2 separate regions of the Homo sapiens genome follow, and region 2 is linked to region 1. The links are contacts of gene promoters, found by promoter capture Hi-C in human tissues and cell types (Jung and others, 2019). All regions are on one chromosome and are shown on one strand. Each heading gives the region's core, a stretch centred on a gene start or on the middle of the fragment in contact. The rest is flanking DNA. Distances are from core to core; before and after follow the strand shown. Region 1 holds the start of AHSG (alpha 2-HS glycoprotein). Region 2 overlaps DGKG (diacylglycerol kinase gamma).

The links. Contacts are between HindIII fragments. The study calls those that stand out against the background at their distance.
Region 2: a contact is called between a fragment that was not itself captured here and the fragment with the promoter of AHSG in region 1, in 2 of the 25 tissues and cell types used here (IMR-90 fibroblasts and stomach).

The regions. Positions count from the first base shown.
Region 1 is chr3:186,610,547-186,616,643 of GRCh38, reverse strand. AHSG (alpha 2-HS glycoprotein) reads right to left here and starts at 3,584. Exons shown (of 7, transcript NM_001622.4): 1 at 3,290-3,584; 2 at 849-959; 3 at 117-201. The coding sequence starts at 3,502. The HindIII fragment of the contact is 10,895 bases long and covers 1-6,097 here.
Region 2 is chr3:186,320,526-186,326,825 of GRCh38, reverse strand. It overlaps DGKG (diacylglycerol kinase gamma), which reads left to right. Exons shown (of 25, transcript NM_001346.3): 2 at 6,119-6,300. Among named protein-coding and RNA genes, the nearest start is that of DGKG, 39 kb to the left of the region's middle. The HindIII fragment of the contact is 3,991 bases long and covers 1-3,314 here.

The sequences.
Region 1 (6,097 bases), core at 2,335-4,834:
GCTTCTCCTTTTCCTCACCGACAAAGCTGCTAGAACTACTTAAGTTGAAAATTATTCAGATCCCTTCCCCACTTTCTCTACAAGGAAAAAATGAGAATAAGAATAGTCATCTGTACCTGGACTGGAATCACATTTTGCGTATACCACGGAAAACTTGCCATCTAGTTTCAACAGCTGGAAATCACAGTCTCCTTCGACAGCCTGGAGAAAGAAACCCACGTGAGGATGGCTGCCCTTCCCCTTCGCACCCCGGGCAGGCTCCCTCCAGGCACGGCTGTCAAAGGTGACCCTTGCAAAATCGCCTTTGCTGGGTAATACTGAAACATGGCACTCTCTGCTTTCAGGGATACAACGATATAGTTAAACGCTTGTAAAAATCAGCCCCAGGGCAAGTGGCATCAAATGGCAATTTTATTTATGATGATGATTATTATTATTATTATTTCGAGATAGAGATTCACTGTTGTTGCCCAGGCTGGAGTGCAATGGCAGGATCTTGGCTCACTGCAACCTCCACCTCCCGGGTTCAAGCGATTCTCCTGCCTCAGCCTCCCGAGGAGCTGGGATTTACAGGTGCCCGTCACCACGTCCAGCTAATTTTTGTATTTTTAGTAGAGATGGGGTTTCACCATACTGGCCAGGCTGGTCTTGAACTCCTGACCTCAGGCGATCCACTTGCCTCAGCCTCCCAAAGTGCTGAGATTATAGGCATGAGCCACTGCGCTCGGCCACAAATGGCAATTTTAGAAACTGCACCCTGGCTAGCCAAGAAGGCAGGCTGAGACGCTGGGTGAATCGGTGGAGCTGGCCGAAGGGCCACCTACAGTCATCCTAAGAAGGGTACTCACATGCTCCTTCAGCTGCCTCACGCTGCATCTTGCCACAGGGGTGGGGTCCAGCACATGGCAGGTGGTTTCCAGGGTGTCTATTTCAATCTCAAACAGCTCTCCGGAGGGCTGCTGTGGAGACAAAGAGTGAAGCCGTGAGCAACCTATTCCCCTGATCCTGTGGTGCGGTCCACGGTATGCGCCCTCATTGGGCTTGAGAGCACCCCGCTTTTGGAGAGGTGAGGGAAATGTCATTCTTACTGTCAGTCTGCAACTCCGTCTAGCTCTGAACTGGCCTGTGGGCAGGACAATGACCAGGGCTTGTCTGGTCTTCGTCTGTTGATTAAGGAAGCACCAGATGATGCTCGCAAAGCAGACGGGGTCCTGGGCTTGAACAAGTCGATGGAGCCACAGCCCTCACTCTGAGCTCTATTTGAAAACTACAAATGGGTGTTAACACTTATTTGTATTTATTATTTATTTAATTTTTTAAGATTTCACTCTTCAAGCAGTGCTTTGGAAAATGCAAGTTTGGATTTTTCTCAGACAAGCTGCAAAATAAGGTGGTGTAGGGTAATATCTTACTGTCTTTTTTTAATCTCCTCTATCCCTCCCTCTCCTTCTTTCTTTCTTCCTTTTCATTATTTGCTTTCCTTCCTTCCTCCGTTTTCTTTTCCCTCCTAGAGGTTTTTGCTGCTGTTGTCCTTGGTTTTTCCTTTGTCTTGGCTTGTGCAGCAGGTGCCGGCATGCAACGATGCTGCTCTCTACTTCCCCCTGCTGGCGATAATGGGGAAGGGCATGTCTCCCTCTGACAGGAAACTGGATGTCACTAGTGTAGACACGAGGGAGCTTGCAACAATCCTTGGAGATATTCTTGTGAGTTCACCTGTTTCTGTATCTTGTCTTCGAAGCCTGAAAAATCCAGAAGGTACAAGTATGCCTTTTCTCCTCTCAGCCCAGCTCTGTTTGCCTCTCATTGGTTCTGCCTGATTCACTAGTACCTGAAGCCTCAGCATCCCCTCCCCTGGGAGAAGCTCCGCATTTTATGATGTCCAGGTGTGCCCAGAGTGACTGCCTGAAAGCGTTCACAGCTCTGGCGAACAGGAACCGGGTACACCTGGGTTTCTCAAGGGAACCAACTCTGAAGCTCTGCCTTTAGTAAAAGTCACAATGCCCATTCATGATTACCTTTTCCCTCAGATGTGCGTGTTGCGTGTTCATTTCCCCTGACTTGATCAGCGTTTCCTCCTAACCACCACTGTGCTTTAATATGGCTGCAGCACTCTTAAAATCCATCCGGAGCAATCCTGATTTCAAATATTTTGTCTCTTTGTGAGACGGATGGCAGTCGTCAGTCGGTCCAGGCTTCCTGTTGTTGACCTTATTTTCCAACCTAGATTGTAAGCTCTTGTGGGCACATATTGTGCCTTTTTCACCACTGTATTAGGTTGAACCATTAAAACGGCCAATATTTGGTTGCTTTTGATATAGAAAAATGGCAGTTTTATATGGTTCAACCTAATATCTCTGGTTCTTGTCCAAGGAAGGCTTGTAATACATATTTGCTGAAAGAATTGTCCTTAATCAGAAATAAATCTAATTTCAAAACAGGCAGTAGGCAGACAGCTTCTTTCCACCTCTCCAAATCTCTTGACTGATCCCCGAGGCATATTTCCAGCTTGATTTTTCTTGTCACTGGCTTCAAGCTGCGTTGGTTTCCTGTCTAGTGTGTGAGGAGGTGAATTGTGTTTATGCCAAGACTTCTCTCTGGGATGTGGGTAACTCTCTTTGGGAGGCAGTTTGTGTAGAAGAAGGAACACAGATATGGAATCAAATCCCAGCCTGAAGACTTAGTAATTATATGATTTTGGACCAAAAAAAAAAAGACAAAAACAAAAAACAAAAAAACTGCACACACACACACAACAGAGCCTTGGTCTCCTCTTGGGTAAGACAAGAACAATATATGTACCACACAGCACCAGGAGGCAGGACCGGGAAAGAGTAAATGAGATAATCTATGTGAATGGGCCTGGCATATAGTAGGCATCTGCCAGATGCTAGTTTTATTCATTCTCAGTCTTTGTTAGAGAGAAACCAAACCAAAGACAGATACGTGATTTTCAGCCAGTGGTAACTTGGCAACTAGGAGCTGGTCTCTTGGGTCCTAGTTTTTCCAGCAAGTTACACTTTCTGTCTGTGATCTGCACACTACCATTTGAAGCACTTTTTCTCCTGCACACCACCTCACACCCCACCCAGCTCCCTCCTGACACCCATGACTGCCATACAGAATGTCTCCTCTCCTGCCCTCTGCCTGCCCCTTCCCTCACTCCTGGGAAGAAATCAGAGAATTTACTCCTCTGTGGTTTCATTTGCACTGGGTGATGGTGATTTTTTGAGGCACCTGATTGAGCTCCATGTACACATTATTTCAGCTCATAGACAGCAGGTCCACTTACCTGAGGCCACACCTTTACTTCATCAATCTGGTTCAAGGTGTGTTTGTATCCCCAAGGAAGGTTTTGATTGATGTAGTCTATAGCCACCAGAGCTGCTTCCTCAGTTTCTGGATCATCGCAGTTCGGTTGTCTATAAATCAGCCCTGGGCCATGTGGGGCTGAGTGGCAGCCCCAGAGCTGAGCAAGACAAAGGAGCAGGACGAGGGACTTCATGGCTGCCCCAGAGAGGCCCTGGCAGGCGTGCAGGTGGTTGGAGGCTTCGGGACCAACCCAGGTGCTCTGCTGGGAAAGGTAGACCCATGGAGGGTGGTGGGCTTTATTTATCTGTTGGAGCCTGCCGGAAGAATTGCATAAGGATACAGGATGATTTCTGCTTTGGTTCAAAAGAAAAAAAAAAACACCCTGCAAACATCAGCCCTGGAAAAGCAAACAGGTTAGGACATCGCTGGTCCCCAAGAAATCTGCCAAAGTCCATGCTGCTGTGGGGGAGATGCTCCAAAGTCTGCTTGGAACATGGTAATAGCAGCAAAGAGAAGACAGCTGAGGGAATGAGGTGGACACAGTCAGCCTCAGAGTGCCATGGGTTTGGCAGCAGAGGAAATGTCTTCTACTGTGATCTGAGCATGCCATGGGGTCTGTGAGAGGGAAGGGAGGATACTCAGCAATTTGATAAAATTCTCCAATGTCAGGGGGAGTTAGCTTTCCAAGAGGAGTCCTACAGGGAGAACAAGGCCCACAGATATAGCAAAGGTACAGATGTGTATAGGAGATGCCAAGATTTTGGGGGAAGATTCTTGGAGAAAAGAAAAAGGATGAGAGATGTTTCTGCCTAAAGTGGGGAATGGAGGTGGAAGAAGGGGGTTCCCGTGGCAGGACCACGGTGGGAAATGACCAGCAAAACGTGTGGGGTTCCCTGCCCCTTCTCTTCCTTCTCCAGACCTCACTGCCAGGGCCCTGCATGTGACAGCACAGATGGGCACTGACCAGAGTCTCCTAGCACTAGTAACCTAGTGCCCCTGCCAGTGCACAAGGGCAGCAGAGGGGAGTCCTGACTCATTTGACACAGCTCTGGGTTCGAGTCTGACACCGCAGGCTGAGATGCTGCACGAGCAGCTACGGACACAAATACCCCTTGAACATTCTTTGCAGACTCAGCAGAATTACAGTGTGTCTTTCTGGCCAGAACAGAGGGCCAGTGTTGACTCCAGGCACTGCCTATTAAGTGACCCTTGACAATTCCAAGTGTGACATCCAAGGAGGGTTGGCAGGATAAAGAGAGGCTTGGGAAATATCACACAAGGACCTGGTTTGGTTTAGTCTGAAGCAAAGAAGCCCTCTCATGGAGACCAACATGGTCTTCAAATATTTAGAGGCCATCATTGTGTGTGGGTGAATTTGTTCTAATGTTTGATATTGCTTCAGAGAAAAAAAAACTGGTTAAAAAAAAAAGAAAGAAGAGGGGCCCCTCCAAAGGGAAGCTTAATATTGATTTTCTGGGGTGAGAATCGGGGTGAGGGAGGTGAAGTGAGTGGTGATGGGGCAGAGAAGGTAGTTGGCAGGACTGTTCTCACATTTACTCCCAGCTGCTCACACACCACACCGAATCTTAATGTCAGAAGCTCAGAAGGTGTGGCCAGGACTCCAGGTTCTCTCCAAGAGGGGGACCATGATTCTTCCAGATGAAAAACAAACTCTGGTCATCCAGCAAGATGATCCTCAAAGCCAGGGGCAATCTTCCATCACCTTATACTCCATTTCACTCAGGGCCCTGACTCCTGAACTGTGTGTGGAAGCTATGCTTTTCTTTATATAATCTTTAAAAATATTGAAGGGCTGGGCACGGTGGTTCACACCTGTAATTCCAGCACTTTGGGAGGCTGAGGTGGGCAGATCACGAGGCCTAGAGATTGAGCCCAACCTGACCAACACAGTGAAACCCTGTCTCTTCTAAAAATACAAAAATTAGCTGGGCGTGGTGGCGCGCGCCTGTAGTCCCACCTACTCGGGAGGCCGAGACAGGAGAATCACTTGAACCCAGGAGGTGGAGGTTGCAGTGAGCCAAGATTGCGCCACTGCACTCCAGCCTGGCAACGGAGTGGGACTCCGACTCAAAAAAAAGAAAAATTGAATAAAGTGTGGTAAGGTGGCACACACCTGTAATCCCAACTATGAAGGCAGGATGATAGCATAAGACCTGGAGTAGGCTATGGTTGCAGTGAGCTATGATAGTGCCACTGCACTCCAGCCCAGCCAACAGAATGAGACTCTGTCTCAAAAAAGAAATCATTCACAATCTCATCATGCAGAGATAAACAGTGTTAATGTTTTGATGCATTTATATCTTTTCTTTTTTTCTATGTAAAATAATATTTTAATATAATTTTGATTATACTGCATATACAGCTGTTAAAATTTTTTCACCTATTGCTTTAACTTGAATATTTTCCTATGTCATTAAGTAGACTTAAAAACATGTTTACAGGCCAGGCACGGTGGCTTACACCTGTAATCCCAGCACTTTGGGAGGCCAAGGCAGGTGGATCATGAGGTCAACAGATAGAGAGCATCCTGGCCAACATGGTGAAACCCCATCTCTACTAAAAATACAAAAAATTGGCTGGGCGTGGTGCTGGACGCCTGTAATCTCAGCTACTTGGGAGGCTGAGGCAGGAGAATCACTTGAACCTGGGAGGCAGAGGTTGCAGTGAGGGGAGATTGTGCCACTGCACTCCAGCTTGGGCAACAGAGTGAGACTCTGTCTCAAAACAAAAAACAAAAAAAAACAAAAAAAAAACAAAAAACAAAAAA
Region 2 (6,300 bases), core at 70-2,569, 290 kb after region 1:
TCAGTGGATATGAAGAAAACATCCTAAAATGAAATACAAACAGAAACTGATGGGAGTGAGAAAGAACTAACCTACGTAACTTTTGAGAGTAGCATTTTGAGGATTTGCCGTTGCCTGAAAACAATAGAACTGTAAACAAATCTTGAAGTCTATTTTGTTTTTCACAGAGGTGTGGACTGGCAATTCTGAAACTACTTTCTGTGTATTAAGCAAATAAGTATGTTGTAGATGATGGAAACAAAGCTTGTTAGAGAAGATAGTTAAAAAATATGGAAGGAAGGGAAGGCTACAATTGACTTTGCAATGTCGGACTGGAGTTGGAGGTGTAAGTATGAACTCAAGGTATTTAACAGAGAGAGAGAGAGAGAGAGAGAGAGATGAGGGGTGTGTGTGTGTGTATCTGTGTACATACATCTATTTTTTTTTTAAGACAGTGTCTCACTCTGTCACCCAGGCTGGAGTGCAGTGGCAGGATCTCGGCTCGCTGCAACATCCAACCCCCACCTCCCAGGTTCGAGCAATTCTCCTACCTCAGCCTCCTGAGTAGCTGGGACTACAGGCATGTACCACCACACCCAGCTAATTTTTGTATTTTTAATAGAGACAGAGCTTCGCCATGTTGGCCAGGCTGGTCTCAAACTCCTGGGCTCAAGTGATCCTTCCGCCTCGGCCTCCAAAAGTGCTGGGATCACAGGCATGAGCCACCACGCCCAGCACACGCATCTATTTTCTAGCTCTGTCCTTGATAGGGCCTAGAAGCAATGACACCCCAGCAGCAGTGAGCATACGTGGTACCCAAGCTTTGGCTTCAAATGCCATTCTTCACCAAAGGAACTCCTTAGAGAAATGACTGATTTTAGCACTTGAGCTGAGGAAGTACGAGATGAGCCTGAAACATTTTGTAGTGCTAGAAAATAAGGATGTGCTGAAAAAATGACTGAGATATATCTAAAGAACAGATCGCCACCTTGACTGAGCTTCCACTGATCAAATCTGGAATAATCTGAGAGTCGAAGATAGCAACAGATTTGTAACCCACAGAATAAAATAAGAATCTGTGAAAATAAATATATATTATATATAAATGCAGTTTTTATACACACATATATATTCTTTATATATTTATAATTTATCTTTATTTATAGTAGACATATAAATTGATATAAATAACAGAAGGGAAAGCTCTTACTTACAATAGACTCCTAACTAACAAATATAAAGGGAATGATGGAATTAGAAAATCAGTATCATTGTAATAATTAATCCAGGCAATAATCATTAGTGGACGCTAAAACTAGTGGATAAGGGTTGATGAGCAATTACAAAATTACAACAACCTGGAGCAGTATCAGATCAAGTTCAGAAACCTGTGGCACAATACTAGAAACTTTCTACTTGACTACTGCCAGCTGATTTTTTAAAATTTCAACTATTATTCAGGGGGTACAGGGGCAAGTTTGTTACCTGAGTATATTGCATGATGTTGACTTTGGAGTATGAATGATCCCATCACCCAGGTAGTGAGCATAGTACCCAATTTTTCAGTTTTTCAGTTTTTCAGCCTTTGCCCCTTCCCCCTGCCCCCTCTAGTAATCCCCAGTGTCTTTTACTTCCATATTTATGTCCATATGTTCCCAATGTTTAGCTCCCACTTATAAGTAAGAACATGTAGTATTTGGTTTTCACATATTTTCTATTTGGTATTTGGTATTTTCTATTCCTGTGTTAATTCATTTTGGATAATGGCCTCAAGCTGCATCCATGTTGCTGCAAAGGACATGATTTCATTCTTTTTTACGGCTGTGTAGTATTGTATGGTATATGTGCATTACATTTTCTTTATCCATCCAGTCCATCATTGGATAAATGGATAAATTGGATAAATCCAGGTTGATTCCATGCCTTTGCTACTGTGAATAGTGCTGTGATGAACATATGAGTGCACGTGTCTTTTTTGTGGAACTACTTATTTTCCTTTGGATGTATACCCAGTAATGGGATTGCTGCATTGCATGGGAGGTCTGTTTTAAGTTCTTCGAGAAATCTCCAACCTGCTTTCCATAGTGACTGAACTAATTTACATTCCCACCAGCAGTGTATAGGCATTCCCTTTTCTCCAAAGCCTCACCAGTATCTGTTTTTGTCTTTTTAATAATAGTCATGGTTTTGATGTACATGTATCTGATGATTAGCAATGTTGAGCATTTTTTCATGTTTGTTGGCCACTTGTATTGTCTTCTTTTGAGAAGAGTGTGTTTGTGCCCTTTGCCCACTTTTTAATGGGGTTATTTTGGGTTTTTTTTTTTTTTCAGCTGATCGTTTAAGCCACATTGCTACATGTTGTATTTGCAACTGGATGATAATAACAATCATTTATTGAGTGTTTGCTATGTGCAGGCATTGCACCAGGTGGGGATTTTGTTTTTATGTTTGTTGCATATATTAACCCACTTAATCCTAACACCAACCCAGTAAGCTTTTTCATTAATATCTTCATGTTTTAGATGAAGAAACCAAAGTTCAAGGGATGAAAAATATGTCTAGGGTGAAATAGCTCAGAAGGGCAGAGCCCAGATTCAAATTCTCTGCCTTCTGGTTTTAGTTCAGTGTTGTTCTGTCATGCAGTGTGCCTATGCGTCCTCTTAGATCTCCCTCTGTGCTTCTGAAGGTGTGCAGAATGCCCAGGCCATGGAGGCATTCTTTTTTTTTTTTTTTTTTTTTGACAGACTCTCACTCTGTCGCCAGGCTGGAGTGCAGTGGTGTGATCTTGGCTCACTGCAACCTCTGACTCCCTGGTTCAAGCGATTCTCCTGCCTCAGCCTCCCGAGTAGCTGGGATTACAAGCATGCACCACGACACCCAGCTAATTTTTTTTTTTTTTTTTTTTTTGAGACGGAGTCTCACTCTGTTGCCCAGGCTGGAGTGCAGTGGCGCAATCTCAGATCACTGCAAGGTCTGCATCCTGGGTTCAAACCATTCTTCTGCCTCAGCCTCCTGAGTAGCTGGAACTACAGGCACCCACCACCACGCCTGGCTAATTTTTTTGTGTTTTTAGTAGAGACGGGGTTTCACTGTGTTAGCCAGGATGGTCTCGATCTCCTGACCTTGTGATCCGCCCGTCTCGGCCTCCCAAAGTGGTGGGATTACAGGCGTGAGCCACTGCGCCTGGCCACACCCAGCTAATTTTTGTATTTTTAGTAGAGACAAGGTTTCACCATGTTGGCCAGGATGGTCTCGATCTCCTGACCTCATGATCCGCCCATCTTAGCCTCCTAAAGTGATGGGATTACAGGCATAAGCCACCGCACCCAGCAGGAGGCATTCTTAAACAGAAGCACTAGTGGCTCCTTCTTTCTCCTCACCATGTTTACTAAATACCTAACCTCATTTTTTTCTCATCCGCAAAACAGGGACAGCAATATTGAATTGACATGTTATTAAGAGGACTAAATTAGATAATGTATATAAAGCATATAGCACAGAGTAAAGTACAGGTCCATTCATTGATAGCAGCAGCAGCGGTGACAGTGGTTGCAATGCTAGATTCCCTGGCACGATGGCAAAGGTTTCTAAAGGATACTCCTCACTTTCGTACTAAATTGATCATCACGAGCCAGATCATAAAGAGCTTTGTGTATCATGAAAAGAAGATTACATCTTATTCTACAGGCAGTAGAAACTACTGAAGAATTTTATTACCGAGAGAGATGTGATCTGGTTGGCAATTTAAAGAGCAGACCAAGGGGAGGAGAACAAAGCGCAAGGCAGGGAGAGCAGCAGGAGGCTGTTGTCAAAGGCCAGGCAAGAGATAAGGAAGGTCTGAGTTAATGCCAGGGCTGGTGTGGTGGACAAGAGGGAGCACACAGTGGACAGTCAAACTCCGGAGCTGTGCCTGGGTTTGGCAGGAGAGAAAAGGGGAGGAGCTTAGCTGAGCCTCCTGCCTCTGACCTGGGCACTGGCTTCTCTTGGGCATAACCCGAGCGGCTGGGGACACTGGAAGATGCAGATCAGGGGTGGTTTGGGACACACAAGGGAGTCACAGTAGATGGTTGGATATACAGATCTGGATTAAGGCATCTGAATATCTGAATATTCAGATTCAGACCAAGGAGAGAGCTCAGGGCTGCCGCAGCATGCCGGGGGTCATTAAAGCTTGGAGGTGGATGAGGTCCATCAGAGAAGGGATGTAGAGTGAGAAGAGGGCTGAGGACAGGATTTTGGAAGTGCCCATTTTTTCTTTAACTTTTATTTTAGGTTCAAGGGTTCTTGTGCAGGTTTGTTATATGGGTAAATCACATGTCACGGGGGTTTGCTGTACAGATTATTTTGTCACTCAGGTAATAAGCATAGTACCCAGTAGGTAGTTTTTCAGTTCTCTCCCTCCTCCCATCCTCCACCTTCAAGTAGGCCCCAGTACCTATTGTTCCCTTCTTTGTGTCCCTGTGTTCTCAGTGTTCAGCTCTCACTTATAAGTGAAGATGTGCTGTATCTGGATTTCTGTTCCTGTATTAGTTCACTTAGGATAATGTCCTCCAGCTCCATCCATGTTGCTGCAAGGAACAGGATCTCATTCTTTTTTATGGCTGTGTAGTATTCCGTGGTGTATATGTACTACATTTGCTTTATCCAGTCTTCCACTGATAGGCATTTAGGCTGATTCTATATCTTTGCTGTGGAAACATTTCAATATTTAAAGATGGCAAAAGAAGAGGCTGAAGGAGACTGACAAGAAACACCCAGAAACATAAGAGAGTCTCTAGGTGGAAGTTTTCTGCCATGGCAAAGAAAGATTGCAGAGAGAGAAACAAGCCGAGGAAGGACTGAAAGGTGCCTGCTGGATTTGGCAGCTAGGTCACTGATGACCTTGACAGTAGCATGTGCCAAGGAGCAGAGTCGAGCTGGCTGGATTAAGGAGAGAGTTGGACTTCTCAGGGCGAGAGACTAGAACTTAATGTCCCCAGGAATGTGGGTCTCTCATTTCCTTGCCATGCATTCTGGTTAATGGAAGGTTTTCTTTATAAAGCTAGAATCTCTCTCTCTCCAGCATCTTCCCTCAGCTCTAGTTCACTCTCCAGGTCCAAAACAACCAGTCTACACATTTCCCCAGAGAATGGTCCATATATACCTCCCAACTTGGTCGTCTCATCCAGCACTGCTCATATGCTCCAGGAACCCCAGACTTGCCTTGCAGTTGGCCCTCAGGATGGATCCTGTTTTGTTAAAACTGTGCTTGTTCTTTGGCAACAGTAGAGCCTGTGTTTCAGTTGGTCTTTATTTCTCACCTTTTTAGGTTGGTGGCTTCCCAACCATGCTTGTAACCTCAACTGAGAATAAGAAAGACACTTCACAATATGATCAGTATAACCATGGGTGTATAACTGAAGGAAAAGTCTTATGACATAATACATCCCCTTACTGTGGTAGATGCACTCTAGTGTTTTCGACTCCATCTCATTCTACCCTATTCCATTTCATGTGTTTACATGCTTGTTGTGACTCATTACATCAATTTCACAACCACAAAACTGATTTAATGACCCACAGTATGAGAGGCTCAAAGGAAAAGATGCTCAGTGTTTGTTTGAATCCATCCCCATTTCCCGGCCTCATTGAGGCCAGCAGCCCATTCCTCTAACTCCCTTTTTATGGCTCTAAGAGGACAGAGAACTGCTTCAGTCACTAGATGTTAGCCAGCCTTGGGGTTATTCCAGAATGGCTCACCAGAGCTATCACGGTGGAATTTAGAAATCAGTGCAGGACAGAACGGCTGCATAGGCTCCTGTTCCTGTAATTACTCATGAAGCATCCAATAGCCTAAGGCATTTTTATGCCCTGAGGATGCTCTTAGGCAGCTCTAATACCACCTCTCATGTGACACATGGAACATTTCCCAGAGCTGAGTAGTATGGCCCACCTATTCATACAGGCCACAGCTTGCCCCTCAACTCTCACCACCAGCCAGACAACTGTCGTTGTGCCCTCTTCAGACCTCTCTAAGGGGAGAACCATCCTTAAGAACCATTGAACAATTGTCCCCTGTAGATCTTTCAGCAAAGAACATTTGGGGCCTTTTTTTTTTAACATTCTCATTTACAATGTCTTTTCTGCTTCTATCTAGGAAGAGCCAGGACTTCTGAATTTACCTTGAATACAGACAGGAGGATGTTGCCTAAGGAATAGCAGAGATCTTGTCTCATCTTCTGAGAGGTGCCTGCTGCTGCTGTATACACTTGAGTGCTCCCAGAAGTCTCCTGAAAGGCTTACATCGCAAACCTGCAATGAGCCAGGCCCTGGGCTGGG